Linked DNA regions of Homo sapiens: regions 1, 2, 3 and 4 are each linked to region 5. Evidence: promoter capture Hi-C in human tissues and cell types (Jung and others, 2019). All regions are on one chromosome and are shown on one strand. The core of a region is centred on a gene start or on the middle of the fragment in contact, and the rest is flanking DNA. Distances in the headings are between cores, read along the strand shown.

Region 1 (2,700 bases), core at 61-2,560, 330 kb before region 5:
CCAGACTGGCTGAGATCACAGTGTGCGCCACCCCATCCCTGGCTTGCGATGGTCTCTTACTCCCCACTTTACAAGGGAGGAAAGAGGCCGAGGGCAGAGTGGGCCGCCTGAGGTTTGGAGGCCAGGGCTAGTACAACCTCAATTTGACCCTGGAACCTGCCGCTTCCCCCACCCAGGTGCGGGACCCACCCGCTTGTCCACACCTGGCTCTGCCCACCGCCCCCGGCTGCTCCTCTGGGCTCAGGTCGCCGCGGTCAGGAGCTGCCAAGTTTGCCTATCAAACTTTATCTTCGTGCAGAGAACTGCAGCCTGGAGCTGGTTATTCCGGTCAGTGAAAACGTTGCATTTCTACATATGCTTATCATCATCTGTGTAAACATTTCTTGGTATAACTGTGGAACAGTCAGTAAATATAGATAAATCGAAGAGTAGGTCTATTGCATATGCTATAAAAAAATGCTTTTACTATCAACCTAAAACAAACAAACAAACAAAAAAAATCAAACAAAACCACCATCACCTAAACGTTGGTAACTGGAGCAGCTGCTAGTGTCAGTGCGGACTAAACAGGAGACGGCGGGAACCGTGTCCAGCCAGGGTCCTGGGCCGCGACCTGGTTCTCCCGGAGTCTACAGTGAGGATGACGGGCGGGGAGAGGGGGCCGGCGGGACCCGCGTGTCCCAGGCAACTCCGGGAGAGGGAGAAGCAGGGGTGGCTCGGCGGGGGCTCGGCGGGGGCTCGGCGGGGGCTCGGCGGGGGCTCGGCGGGGGCTCGGCGGGGGCTCGGCGGGGGCAGCGCCCGCTGCAGGGAGGAGCGCGGGGGCCCGGGAGCCTGGGCAGCACCGCGAGACGCCACCTCCGCAAAACGCAAACGCCAATCGCCGGGCGCCTGCGGTCCCAGCTACCAGGGAGGCTGAGGCGGCAGGATCGCGTGAGCTCGGAGGTCCACCGCGCTCCAGTCTGGGCGACAGTGAGACCCCGTCCCCAAAACGAAGGCGGGCAGAGTCTCCTCAGCCGCGCTCGGGCGGGCGGCGCCGCGACGCCAGGCCGGTCCCGCGCTCTCGCCCCACGCTCCGGAGCCGCCCAGCCGCGGTCTCTCAGCTCCGGCCGCGCTCCAGCCCCAACGGCCCCGCGCCCGTCCGCCGCAGGTGGTCGTGAGGGAGGTGCCACAGCTCCGGCTGCCCACGACAGACACGGGCGCCCCAGCGCGCGCACGTCCGGCGTCGCTGCGCCGCCCCCGCCCCCTCGGCGTGCGCGCGCCCGGCGGGCCGGCGGGGGCGGGGAGGGGGCGGAGCCGCCGGCGGCGGGGCTGAGGCGCTGAGGCGGCCGTGGCGGCGGCGGCGGCGGCGGCGGCAGCGGCGGCCAAGCGGCCAGGTTGGCGGCCGGGGCTCCGGGCCGCGCGAGGCCACGGCCACGCCGCGCCGCTGCGCACAACCAACGAGGCAGAGCGCCGCCCGGCGCGAGACTGCGGCCGAAGCGTGGGGCGCGCGTGCGGAGGACCAGGCGCGGCGCGGCTGCGGCTGAGGTGAGGGCGGCGCGGGGCCGCGGCGGCTCGGGCGGGCGCGGGCTCCGGACCCCGCGGTGGCGGCGTTTATGTAAGCGCCGGGCAGGGACTGGTGGTGGGGCCGGAGCTGCGGGCCGTCCCGGGAGCGGAGGGCGCCCGCGGAGAAGCGAGGGTGCCGCGGCACCGCCTCGCACCCACCCTCCTGGGTCGCCCGTCTGCTCCGGCGCTCGGCTCCCGGAGGAAGCTGCGCCCGGGCGGCCCCGCGTCCCCTCCCGAGGGCGCCGAGTCCGCGTGGGATGCGCCGCGCTGCGCCGCGGGGAGGGCAGGTGCGCCGGGACGAGGCTGCGCCCTGGGGACCGAGACTGCGTTTTGGGGAGGGGACGGTGTGCCCTGGAGATCGGAGGCTGCGCTGGGGACGAGGCTGCGCCCGGGGACCAGAGGCTGCCCCGGGTACAAGGTTGCGCCGGGGAACGGGAGGCTGCGTTGGCAACAAGGCTGCGCCTGGGGACGGTAGGCTATGTCCCTGGGGAGACGCTCCGCCCGGCATGGGACGCTGCGCCGGGGGACGGCAGGCTGCGCCCGGGATGAGGCTGGGCCCGGGCAGGGGAGGCTGCCTTGGGAGGGGACGCTGTGCCACGGGAGTGGAGACTGCGTTGGGGACGAGTCTGCGCCCTGGACGGTCCTGCGTGTCCTTCCGAGGGCGCAGTGTCCGCGCGGGATGCTCTGCGCCGCGGGCGGCCCGGGCCAGGGAAGTTCCTGCGGGTGCCGGGCGTCTGCAGCGATCGGGAGCAATCTGGGGCAGTTGGGGGCCCGAGGTGACTTTTGACGTGTTCACATCAGAAGGAAAATTATTGCGTGGTGGATGGGTGCGAGGGAAGGTGTCAGATTGGGCTGTGGACGCTGAAACGTGTTGGAGTCCCGATTTACACGCTGGAAAACCTAACCTAAAACGTGTTCCTGTCCAGGTTTCTATGTCGGAGATCTGCACCGTGGTGTTTAGTTCCCAGTTAATATTTTTGGTCAGCAGGTTTGGGCTGTTACTTCTGATACAGGCATTTTACTTCCTTCTTACTAACCATTATTGCATTCCGTTCTCGAAGTATAACGAAAAGTGGCATGATATCAAACTTGTTTCTTTAACGTTTAACTCCATAATTAAGATGATAGAACCGTAGTTTTTTTAATTGAGAATACAAA
Region 2 (2,755 bases), core at 46-2,545, 470 kb after region 5:
TGGCTCAGGGCGTCCAGCGGCAGCCAGACAGGCTGGGGGCCCCTCCATGTTGCGCGCTCCGGCTGACTCACCGGGGCTGGGGGCCCTTCCACGCGGCGCGCTCCAGCTGACTCACCGGGCCTGGGGGCCCCTCCGTGCTGCGCGCTCCGGCTGACTCACTGGGGCTGGGGGCCCCTCCGTGCTGCGTGCTGCGGCTGACTCTCTGCTGCACATGTGCTGGCAGCTGTTCCAGGTTGCCACATCCTGGGATTATCTTTTCCAGTAAACTGTGGGGTCAGCAGGCCCAGTACTCGCCTTGCTGCTGCTTTTCACCCCCTGCACCATGGGGATGCATTGGGTCAAGTCACACAACGTCAGAAAACTCAAATTCGATTAAAAACTCAGGTCTGCTACTGGGCTCCTGGGAAAGTGCAGAGTCAGTTGGGGCCACTCTGGCAGGCTGCAGTGCCTCTGCTTCCCCCTGGCTCAGCCTGCCCACACCAGCTTCCCCCAGGGGTCTTGGGACATCTACCAGCAATGGCCAGGGTGACGTCCCTCCCTGTCCAGGGCGAGAGCAGGACAGATACTGTCTCTGATGCCCTCCCAGTGAGCTGGGAAGTACCGCTCATTCGCAGCCTCTCCTCCTCATGCCCACTGACCCTGAGGCTACAGGGAGGTTGACCTTTGCTTCCTTCCAAGAGGGTTAAACTTCTACTGTTCACTTCTGGATCTTTCACCTATATAGGACACACATTTGAGGGCGAGGTGGGATCCGATGTTGATTTTCGGCTGTCTGGATCCCCCACTGCTCCAGCCCACAGCCAATTTCTCCACCAGACTGTGAGCCACTTGCAGACAATGGCTGTGCCCATGGCCCCGCATCCCCGGTGCCGTGTGGGAACTGAGGAAAGGTGTGGGGTGAGGAATGTTCCCGCTGGACCCTTTTTCATGGGCCAGTAGGATGTCCCTGCTGCGTTCAGCTTCCCACTAAGACTAGAGGGCCCGTGGAGCCTGAGATGTTGTGTGCAGCACCAGGGCACCGATGGAGCGGTCAGGGGCCAGAACCTGCCCTTAGGCAGGCGAGTCCACGTGCATCCATCACAGCCAGGACAGTGTCAGAGCCCAGACTTGACTCAGCTCTCAGGGTGGCCTACCCTGTCTCTCATCAGAGATATTACGAATCCCGAAATGAGCATTTGAAAGAATTGGAACATTTGTAGGAGGCACACTCTTACGTGGTTCCCAAAGGTGGGACTAAGGAACACTGGCACCATGAGGGAGCCTGGCTATGGTCAGGAAAATTCAGCATCTTCCAGACATGAGACCAGTGTGGCTGGGCCGCTGGAGCAGGGGAAGGTGAGCGGTCACTGTTCCCCACTGGCACCTTTGTCTGCCTTGACGCTGAGTAGCAGGGGAGCAGGCTGTTCAGAATGCTCGCCGAGGCCAGGCTGTGTAAGCCCTGGATGGCCTCCGAATGCCGCCTGTGACAGGCAGGAGCATGAAATTCCAGAAGCCTCCCCTGCCCTGGGTAGCCTCAGGGACATGAAGTGCATGTGAGGCTCTCAAGGAGAATGTGGCAGCTAATCTGCCCTGTCATTTCCGCCGTCCTGGCCTCGTGCAGCCTGATGCAGGCACTGAGCTGTTAAACAGGATAAATCAAGTAGGGGCTGCTGCCACCCACCCCGCACTGTGTTCCCTCCCACAGTCACATCCCCCAGACAGCTGAGGCCGTGAGTGCAGCCCTGGACAGAGCACAGCTAACGGGGGTATGGCCAGAGCCGCTGGCTGCGACAGCGCTCGCTGCGGCTGCGAGGACCCCAGATGGCGCTTTGCTGGCAAGGCTTCTCCCGCCTTCTCGGGGCAAGCAGTGGCACACAGGAGAGAGCTCAAGGCGCCTGCTGCCAGCCGCACTCACAGCTGTGTGACCGCCCTTCTACACTCCAAGGCATCTCTATGTTAATATCCAAACCTATTCATCCATCCCCCAGCAAACAAGCCTTACAACTTGGGCCTCACATGACACTTTCAAACGTGGGTCTCTTCCTTTCGGGTCTGACGGGATGTCATTCACTGTTATTTTTGGCATGAAAATAGATGATGGATTACCTCTCTGGTGGTCGGGAACCTAGGCCTGGAGCCAGCTGGTCACAGTTCAGGGTCATCGCACTGTGTCACCTCGTGTAAAACGGAGGAAGAGCTCGCCCTACTGTGTTAGGACAGCCTGGATTTATATATGGAAAAACATGGGGCTGTGGCCCTGTGTGGCCGCTGTTTCATTACACATCACTTCTTACTAGGGCAGTATTCATTTTACTAGCATTCTGTTGATTTGAATATTTTTTTAAAAAAAGAGTAACTGGCAAATTTATCAGAATTTATAGTGGTACCAGTTTTAAACAGATTTTGCCAATTTAATCAATATAAAGATGAAATGGCCAGGTGCAATGGCTCACGCCTGTAATCCCAACACTTTGGGAGGCCGAAGCAGCCAAATCACCTGAGGTCAGGAGTTTGAGACCCGCCTGGCCAACGTGATGAAACCCCATCTCTACTAAAAATACAAAAAATTAGCCGGGTGTGATGGTGGCACGCCTGTAGTCCCAGCCACTCAGGAGGCTGAGGCGGAGGAATTGCTTGAACCTGGGAGGTGGAGGTTGCAGTGAGCTGCTGTACTCCAACCTGGGCAACAGGAGTGAAACTCCGTCTTAAAAAAAAAAAATTAAATGAGGCTTTGATTCTGGTCAAATGGAGTGGGGGTACACCCCCCTGCCCCTCC
Region 3 (2,700 bases), core at 73-2,572, 440 kb after region 5:
TGTGTGCGTCCTGTCCTGTGCATGGAGCAGGGCAGGTATTCTCAGATGCTTTCTGACCTAATAGGTTCCTCCTTTCCCATCCCTTTCCCTAGAGAGAATTTTCTTGAGACTGTTTTTTTCCAGTGTGTATCCTTTGGCATTTTTCAGTTGCTTTTCCAGTGCCCTGTCTGAAATATAGAGGAGGAAGCACAAACAAAACGAACAAACAAATAAGAAACCCAAAGAATAGCGAACTCACCGCTGTGTCATTCTCCAAATCCCAAGGGCCCAGCCAGTCCCCCTTCTTCCCTCCAGCTTTCAGGGTTCTCTTCTGTTTGTTCCACATGTAATGTCCAGAGTTGTTGGCTGTGCTCAGCAGGAAGAATAGGGAGAGAGGTGTCTATTCCATCCTGTCCAGAACCAGAAGGCATGGCTTCCTTTACGTGACTACTATCCCCTGTGCCTTCGCAGTTGTTTTTCTTGATTAATCTCATCAGAGGGTTGTATATTATTTAGACTTTAAGAACCAAATTTTATATTTACTGATCTTCTCAGTTGCCTTTGTTTCTTTGCTTAACTTCTGAACTTTTCTTTATTATTACCTTTCCACTTTCTGTGGATACTTTCTGTTCTTTTTCTAACTTTTTAAATGGGATTCGTGACTCACTAATTTTGTGTTTCTTTACTCCTTTTAAAAGCTATAAACTTTACTGTGAGTTCTGTTGCAGCTGTTTGCTACAAATTTTGGCATGCAATAATTTTATTATTGTTGAGGTCTGTTTTCTGATCTCATCTATTTCTTATCTGGAAACATTTAAAAAGTGTTTTGTCCAAGGGAATTGTAAAGTTATCTTTTGCTAATGATATTTAATTGCCTACTGAGTAGGAGATATGTTCTGTGGACTCCATGTTTTCAACATTTGTTGAAACCTGCAATATGAACTAAAACGTTATCAATTTTTGTTTTGTTCTCTGAGAGCCTTAGGAGAATGTGTTACCTCTGCTTGTCAGGTACAGGGTTTTATATACACACAGACACACATACGCACTATCATGTTGTTTGTGCTGTTAATATATTCTGCATCTTTATTACTTTTGTGGGGTATACTTGTGTGAACTGTAAAGGAGAGAGGTATGTTGGCATCTCCCACCAGTTGGGCGATTTGGGGCCTGTGACCTCTGACCTCACTGCTCCTTCTTGTAGCATTCTTCCTCCATTAATGCTCGTCTCTCTCCTTGACCTTCTTTCAGTCTTTCTTCTCAGTGTTTCTACCCAAAATTGCAGGCCCCAGCTCCAGCAGTCTGGTTGCGGACAAGGCCGTGCTTGTTTTTCATTGGGCTGGTCTGTCCAGCTCCAAGGCTGCCCTTTGAGCCGGACGATTGACCCACTGCATTAGGAAATGCTTTGCCGTCTTGGTGAGAGCCCCACTTTAGGGAGGTCTTGCACACTGCTGCATGGAGCATAGACACGTTGGGTGGGAGGTGCCCCAGCACCTAAGGACTCTTATGATTGGGTGGCAGGGGTGGGTGGTGCTGCCCTGCCCTCCAGAGCCCTTCACATGGTCCAGATGTCACCCAGCGCAAGGTGAGGGAGCCCTGGGGTCACATTCTCCACCCTCCCTCCAGCATTGTTGCAGCCGCAGGACACCTGCCAGGGTAGAATTCAGCGTGGCTGGAGGATTTTGTGTGGCAGAAGTAATGGAGATGGTAGGCAGGCTGGTCTCCCCGCTCCTCTGTGAGCACTGTGTGTTGGTGCTCCCTGCCAATGGTGCTCCCCGCGGCATGGTTCCACGCGCACCACAAGGGCAGCGTGGCTTCCTCATCTTAGATGTGACAGAATGGAGATAGTTCTGGGTGTTAGCCCACAAAAGTGGCAACGTTAGGGTCCAAACTCTGGTACATATGAAACCATGGTTCTTCTTTCTTCCTCTCCAGGCAGATTCATAAGAAGAAGACTGGGTCTGAGTTTATATACATATATATAAAGTTATATATAAACTTCATATACGTATATAAAGTTATAACTTTATATACGTATATGAAGTTTATATACGTATATAAAGTTTATATATATGCTTTATTTATATATATAGTTTACATATATATATGCTTTATTTAAGGTTGAACAAAATTTTGCATTCATCAGAAGCTTCCTTTTATGAATTCTTAGACTTTTTTACTGGGTACCCCAGAGATTTAAGGTATCAGCTTGAATATCTTCTAAACTGTTCTCCCTAAAAGGACCATACCTGGATTCTCAAGGAGTCCACCTCCGGAGGGGTCACTGACAGTTCTGCTCTCTTATGCCTTTTGTTCATCTTAACCAGCCTTGGTTAGCAAGGGGCACCTGCCACCAGATGATCTCTTACCAAGTCATGGTTTCCTGTCTGAAGCGGTTTCCCTGATGCTGAGAGGCATGAGGAGAATGTTACAGAGAGACAGCATGCTGCCTTGTGATTGTCTGAGGTTTGAAACCTTCTGGTGAAGCTGAAACCATTTCTTAAGAGCCTGGCTAATGCTGTGAGCTGCTTAAGCACCCGTGTGCACATGTGTGTAAGTGTGTGCCTTTGCCATGTGTATGCATGTGAGCTGCTTAAGCACCTGTGTCCACACGTGTGAGTGTGTGCCTTCACCTGTGTATGTGTGTGTGTGAGCTGCTTAAGCACCCGCGTGTACACGTTTGTGAGTGTGTGCCTTTGCTGTGTGTATGCATGTGTGTGA
Region 4 (2,700 bases), core at 39-2,538, 290 kb before region 5:
CGTACCCACTAGTTTGTGTCAGCACTGGATTCTGGCATATATAATAGATGAGGAGTTTCTGTTATGTATATGGGATTTCTGAGATACACAGGGGTTTTCTGTGCACATCTCTCTATAACGCAGCTGTCCCGTCACATCCTGCATGTCAGTACAGGTAGTGCCGTTCTCTTCGTAGGACTGTGACACTTTATCTTTGTTCTTTCACAGTTAAAAAAAAAAAAGCTTCTTTAAAATTCTGACTTTATATAACTAACGCAATGCTCATGCTACTTCACTTGTTACAAGAACATATTATTCTGTCCTATAGATGTACTGCAGTTATTTAATGGATCAGCTATTGATAAGGGGGCCCTTTTAATGTAACTATTTTAAAAAATGGAAGTAATACCAGCACATGGTAAAAAACACATTGCAGCTCATGAATGGGTATAAATTAAGTTGGAGATTTCCTCTTTCTCCCTCCCCACCCCATGCCCCGTTTCCAGAGGTAAACAATGTACAGTTTGTGTTTTCTTCTCTTAAGTTCTTCTTGTAGTCACCATTATAGCTTTAACTTTTCTGTTTGTGAGTTCATGTGGAAGTCAACAGTGCCTTCACACTCTGAGTTTTGATGAGATTTATATTGACAAGGCTTAAAACATTTGTAGTGTTTCCCATCTATCATTAGGCTCCCTGTGCTTTTCCTGCAAGTGTAGTCTAAACATTTTAATATAAGAAAAGTAACATTTATAGTATTATGATAGTATATTTTGCCATAGAACCAAGTGGTATGAAATGTAATTCTGCCTCACCAAACCTTTGCCAATAAAAGGAGAATATTCAGATGGAACTCCCAGTTTCTCTTTAGGTGTCCGCTGTTTCTAGCTGCCTCAGTTGCCATGGTTTCTCCTATCCCATGGTGTTGGTTTCTTGGATTCTATTTTTGTTTTGCTGGAGCACCTCCTTAATCCACTTCCTTATAGAATGGATGGCTGACAGACTTCTTAATTCACTTCCTTATAGAATGGATGGCTGACAGACTTCTTAATTCACTTCCTTATAGAATGGATGGCTGACAGACTTCTTGGGTTTTTGCACGTAATGTTCAAACATGCAATTACTTTGTTCTCATACTTATTGATAATTTGGTAGGGTCTAGAATTCTAGGATCGTATAATTTTCCTTTTGAAATCAGAAAATATTCTCTATTATTTTCCAGAGTCTAGTGTTGGTAATGAGAAGTTGGATATCCGTTTGATCCTTGTTCTACTGCAGGTAAACATCTTCTACTCTCTCCTTCTCTCCCTCCCTGGGCTTCATGTCCTGACGGTTTGATTTTTCGTTACCCTAAACCCGGATCTGCTTCTCTTCCAGCCCGCGTGCCCATATTGGGATCACCCCTTAGAAAACCTCAGGCTTTCTTTGGAGAGCGATTCTCAGGTTTCAGCCCAGGAATAAAAGCGTTCCCTATGGCTCCTGCTTCTTGGGAAGACCCCTCACCTCTGTTGTCTTGCTCTGCAGTTTCCTCTGCTCTCTCGCATCAACCTGCTTTCGTCTGCCTTATGCCCTAAAAGCCCTGGCAGGCTTTCTTGTGTTCTGCTAAATCCCTCTGTAAATTTTTAGCACCGTGCACTATTATGGTTCATTCACCACCAAAAAGTACCTTTTCTGACATTTTAACAGAGCTCTGGGAAGAATGGAGAGAAGATATGGTGTACTTTATCACCATTTTTAATTAAAAGCCCTTTTAATTAATTAATTTAGAGGCAGGGTCTCGCTCTGTCACCCAGGGTGAAGTGCAGTAGTGTGATCGTGGCTCACTGCAGCCTCCACCTTCTGGGCTCAAGCAATACTCCTGTTATCAGCCTCTTGAGTAGCTTGGACCACAGTCACGTGCCACATTGACTGATTAATTTTTAAATTTTTTGTAGAGGTGGGGTCTTGCCGTGTTGCCCAGACTGGTCTCGAACTCCTAGGCTCAAGCCATCCTCCCACCTTGGCCTCCCAAAGTGCTGAGCACACCACTGTGCCTAGCCTAAAAGCCTTTTTAGATCACTCTCAGTGGCAAAATTAGTGCCTTGGTCACCTTTACCAGTAGCTGTTCTTGCTCTCCAGTGGAAATATCACTCAACATTATCAAAGAATCGGGATGAAATTAAATGAACCAGTTTAGGTACTTTTGATACAGAAGTTCTTATGAGACGTGTTGTTCTTTACTATGTAAGAGTGTGGCCATAAACTTAAAAATAGCTGGGTAACTTTGTTACACTTGCCTTGATGGTGTGTTGCAAGTTAGTTAAATTTCATATACTCTTAATCAGCACATCACCAACAAATAAAATGTTACTGCTGCATCAGAATTTAGAGGAGGTTCTATACATCTGTTTCGAAATAAAGACGGAGATGACTTAGGGTACTTATAAGTTGTTGAAAAATCATGGCTCCTGAAACTATGAATTGTCATCGTGGTATATACCCAGACAGCCCACATTAAACTGCTGTGAACATGAGAAAATGGACATCGAAATGATAAAAGCAAGAGTGTTGGTAATTGAAATCCATTATAAATAAAGCTGTCATTGGTAACGCACGAAATGCTGTTTCTGAGGATGAGGACTTTGTGGCCCCCACGTGGGCGCATTACCAAGCTTTGCAGCTCTGCACAGGAGCCTCCCTTCTTGATACTGAACTAGACCTCTATAAAGCCTAGTAACACCTCAG
Region 5 (2,702 bases), core at 139-2,638:
AGAAGTGTGCGATGACCACTTCTACTCTATGCTGTTCTCCTTAATCTTTTTATTTTTAAAAAATGTGGGTCATAATCCTTTACATTGATTTCCTTCCTCACAGTGCACCGCAAGCACTCAGGGAAGGACTCCAGGTTTGAAGGCAGATGCTGGTCGGGACCCGACCAGGTGGCTGGGCGGGAAGAGGTGAGATCGGGCAGGATTGGGCCTGGGAAGGCTGAGGCAGGCAGGGATGATGCCAGCAGAGGAGAATCCCAAGCAGGCCCCGCGGCTGCGGCTGGAGAGCTCCAGGGGCGGAGAGGAGGTGGGAGGCAGCAGTCAGGTTGGGAGGACCCTGGCAAGCAAGCCCAGAGAGGAGGGCCGGGAGGGCCGGGCACTAGAAGTGTGAAGTCACTGCTGCCTCCTGGGGCTGCTTCAGAGGATGGGTGGGGCCACGTGTGGGGAGATCAGGGAGACTGGAGACTACGCTGTTTGGTCCAGGCATAGGAGATGAGCCCTGGCCGGGAAGGGACAGTGTGGATGGGCCAGGCGGAATCAGAGGGTTTCAGAGAAAGCCGTCAAGCCAGTGCCATGAGTTTCGCGCACACGAGGAGGGAGCAGGCTGGGGGGTGTTGCTGGTGTGAGGGCTCTCTGGTTGCAGGGAGCGGTCCGGTCGGGTGGGGGCACAGCTGCCAGGAGGAAAGCGCCCAGGGCCTGCAGGTGGGGCTCAGGATGCTGGCCCTGAAGAAATAGAAACAGGGTTTTCACCTGGGAGGGAGGAGGAGCCTGGGAACTGGGGAGGAAGAGGCTCTGCTGGGCCGCGCCCTGGGAACAGGGGGACCTGGGGACAGATCTGGCCCTCGCACGCCCCTCCTGTCTCGCGTCCGTCCCTCCGTGCAGCCGGGGCAGGACCCTGCAGGGGCCTTGCGGGCCGGAGGTGCCGGCTTCCTCCTCCGTCCCGTCCCCCCCGCGGTGACTCTATTCAAATCTCCCCCCTTCCCGCTGCCCCACCGGACTCAGGGGCTGGGGTCGTAGCCCGGCGGGCAGCGGTGTTCACCTTCCGCATAAACCTGGGCTTCCTCGCGGGGCAGCCCCCGGGCCCTGTGCTGGGTCGCAGCCTCGGGCGGTTCCCTCGGGGCGGGACGTGTCCCCGTCCGTCCTCGCCCGTCCCCGCCGCCCCCGGGTCCCGGCCCGCCCCGTCCTCGCAGCCGCAGGTCCGCTGCGGCGCCCGCCCCCCTCTCCCCTCCCCGGGCCTTGCCCTGCTCGTCGCTCCGCCCCCTGCCCGGCCCCTGCCCGGCCCCGCCCCGCGCCCGCCCCCTGCCCGCGCCCGCCCCGCCCCCTGCCCGGCCCCTGCCCGGCCCCTGCCCGCCCCCTGCCCGGCCTCCCAGCGGCGGCGGCTGCAGCGCGGCGGTCCGAGCGGGTGCACCGCGGCGGAGGAGGCAGCATCCCGCGGCGCTGACGGTCCTGGGGAGAGCATGGCGCCGAGGTGAGGCCGGGGCTGCGGGCAGGGGTTGGGGGACGCCAAGATGCGGCTGCGGGGGTCGCGGGGGTCGCGGGGCTCGGCCGGGTCCTGCGGGGGTCGCGGGGGTCCTGCGGGGTCTGACCCGTGCCTGTCCCGCGCAGGTGCCCCTGGCCATGGCCGCGGCGGCGGCGCCTCCTGGACGTGCTCGCGCCCCTGGTCCTGCTGCTCGGGGTCCGCGCGGCCTCCGCGGAGCCAGGTAAGACCCGGGCGGGACGGGAAGGTTCGCGCCGGTGCCCGCCGGCCTCGCCGCCCTGGCTGGGGTCCCCGCCCGGCTCCCTCACCCCCGCCCCGGCCGCTCTGGGTTCAGCCCCGGCCCTGCCCACGCGCGCAGGAGGCGCCGGAGCCGGACGGAGCGGGGCGGGGTGGCCGGAGTCCCGCCCATTCATTCTCCCCGCGGGGTCCGGGCCGGGAGGGGTGCGCGGTGCGAGCGGCCGGAGTCCCCGCGCGGGGACCGAACCTCCGCGGCCGGCGGGGTCGTCGGTGCCGGGAGGGCTCGGGGCGGGGCCGCGGGGTCTCGGGAGACGCGGCCTCTGTCGCCGTCACGGCCTCGTCCCCGCAGCGCCGGGTCCCGGGACTGACCGCGGGCGGAAGGCGGCGGAGCGCGGGGCGTCGTCTCCGCGTTTCCAACCTGTTGAGGCTCCTCGCCGCGGGCCGGGCCTTGTGCGCCTCTGTCCCCGCCGCCCTCAGGCCTCTGTCCCCGCGCCCGCCGTGGTGTCGGGTTGCGCGGTCCCCTTTGATGCCAACCGAGCGCCGCGCGGTCCGAGAACAATGCCCAGAAGCCGCTGCCCCGCCGGCCTCGCCGCTTCCCGTGCGCGGCAAACGGTGCGCGGGGCCCGTGGGGACCTTCCTGCCTCCAACCCCGGGACCCAGTTCCCCACCACCTGCTAACCGGGGCCTCCTGCCTCCAGCCAGCCCAGCAGAGGCCCGGGGGAGGCGGCGGGGACGCGGACCCCAGGGGAGCCCCGCCCAAAGGGCCTGGGTGCCTTGTCGCGGGTGGAATCCCACCCGGGGGTCCACGCAGCCAGCGCCTGCCTCCGACTCGACTCCACACCTGCTTGCTACAGCGGGTGAGGAAGCAGGAAAGGGGGAGGGAGGGATGTCGTCTGGATTCCTGTAATAATTTGTTTCATTGTTTCCAATCGACTTAGTCACCAGGTTAAATAGTAGCATAGACCTTTCAAAAAAGTAGCTAGCTTATAAG

What was found. The method cuts DNA at HindIII sites, captures the fragments that hold promoters and counts their contacts. A contact is called where the count stands out against the background at its distance.
Region 1: the fragment with the promoter of ADARB1 here is called in contact with the fragment with the promoter of COL18A1 in region 5 in 4 of the 25 tissues and cell types used here (bladder, mesendoderm cells, neural progenitor cells and 1 more).
Region 2: a contact is called between a fragment that was not itself captured here and the fragment with the promoter of COL18A1 in region 5, in 1 of the 25 tissues and cell types used here (spleen).
Region 3: a fragment that was not itself captured here is called in contact with the fragment with the promoter of COL18A1 in region 5 in 3 of the 25 tissues and cell types used here (dorsolateral prefrontal cortex, lymphoblastoid cells and spleen).
Region 4: a fragment that was not itself captured here is called in contact with the fragment with the promoter of COL18A1 in region 5 in 2 of the 25 tissues and cell types used here (dorsolateral prefrontal cortex and spleen).

The regions. Positions count from the first base shown.
Region 1 is chr21:45,073,270-45,075,969 of GRCh38, forward strand. ADARB1 (adenosine deaminase RNA specific B1) reads left to right here and starts at 1,311. Exons shown (of 11, transcript NM_001112.4): 1 at 1,311-1,524. It overlaps LOC105372836 (a long non-coding RNA gene), which reads right to left and starts at 472. Exons shown (of 5, transcript XR_937796.3): 1 at 204-472. RefSeq lists silencers at 955-1,044, 1,065-1,264. The HindIII fragment of the contact is 7,799 bases long and covers 1-2,700 here.
Region 2 is chr21:45,875,110-45,877,864 of GRCh38, forward strand. All of the region lies in intron 5 of PCBP3 (poly(rC) binding protein 3), which reads left to right. Among named protein-coding and RNA genes, the nearest start is that of PCBP3-AS1, 40 kb to the left of the region's middle. The HindIII fragment of the contact is 8,021 bases long and covers 1-2,755 here.
Region 3 is chr21:45,842,855-45,845,554 of GRCh38, forward strand. All of the region lies in intron 4 of PCBP3 (poly(rC) binding protein 3), which reads left to right. Among named protein-coding and RNA genes, the nearest start is that of PCBP3-AS1, 7.8 kb to the left of the region's middle. The HindIII fragment of the contact is 8,875 bases long and covers 1-2,700 here.
Region 4 is chr21:45,117,366-45,120,065 of GRCh38, forward strand. All of the region lies in intron 1 of ADARB1 (adenosine deaminase RNA specific B1), which reads left to right. Among named protein-coding and RNA genes, the nearest start is that of ADARB1, 44 kb to the left of the region's middle. The HindIII fragment of the contact is 3,865 bases long and covers 1-2,700 here.
Region 5 is chr21:45,403,777-45,406,478 of GRCh38, forward strand. It overlaps COL18A1 (collagen type XVIII alpha 1 chain), which reads left to right and starts at 1,389. Exons shown (of 42, transcript NM_001379500.1): 1 at 1,389-1,465; 2 at 1,603-1,697. The coding sequence starts at 1,455. It overlaps BNAT1 (breast cancer associated ESR1 regulating natural antisense transcript 1), which reads right to left and starts at 2,586. Exons shown (of 2, transcript NR_183526.1): 1 at 2,391-2,586; 2 at 30-720. RefSeq lists an enhancer at 544-1,244. The HindIII fragment of the contact is 38,297 bases long and covers 1-2,702 here.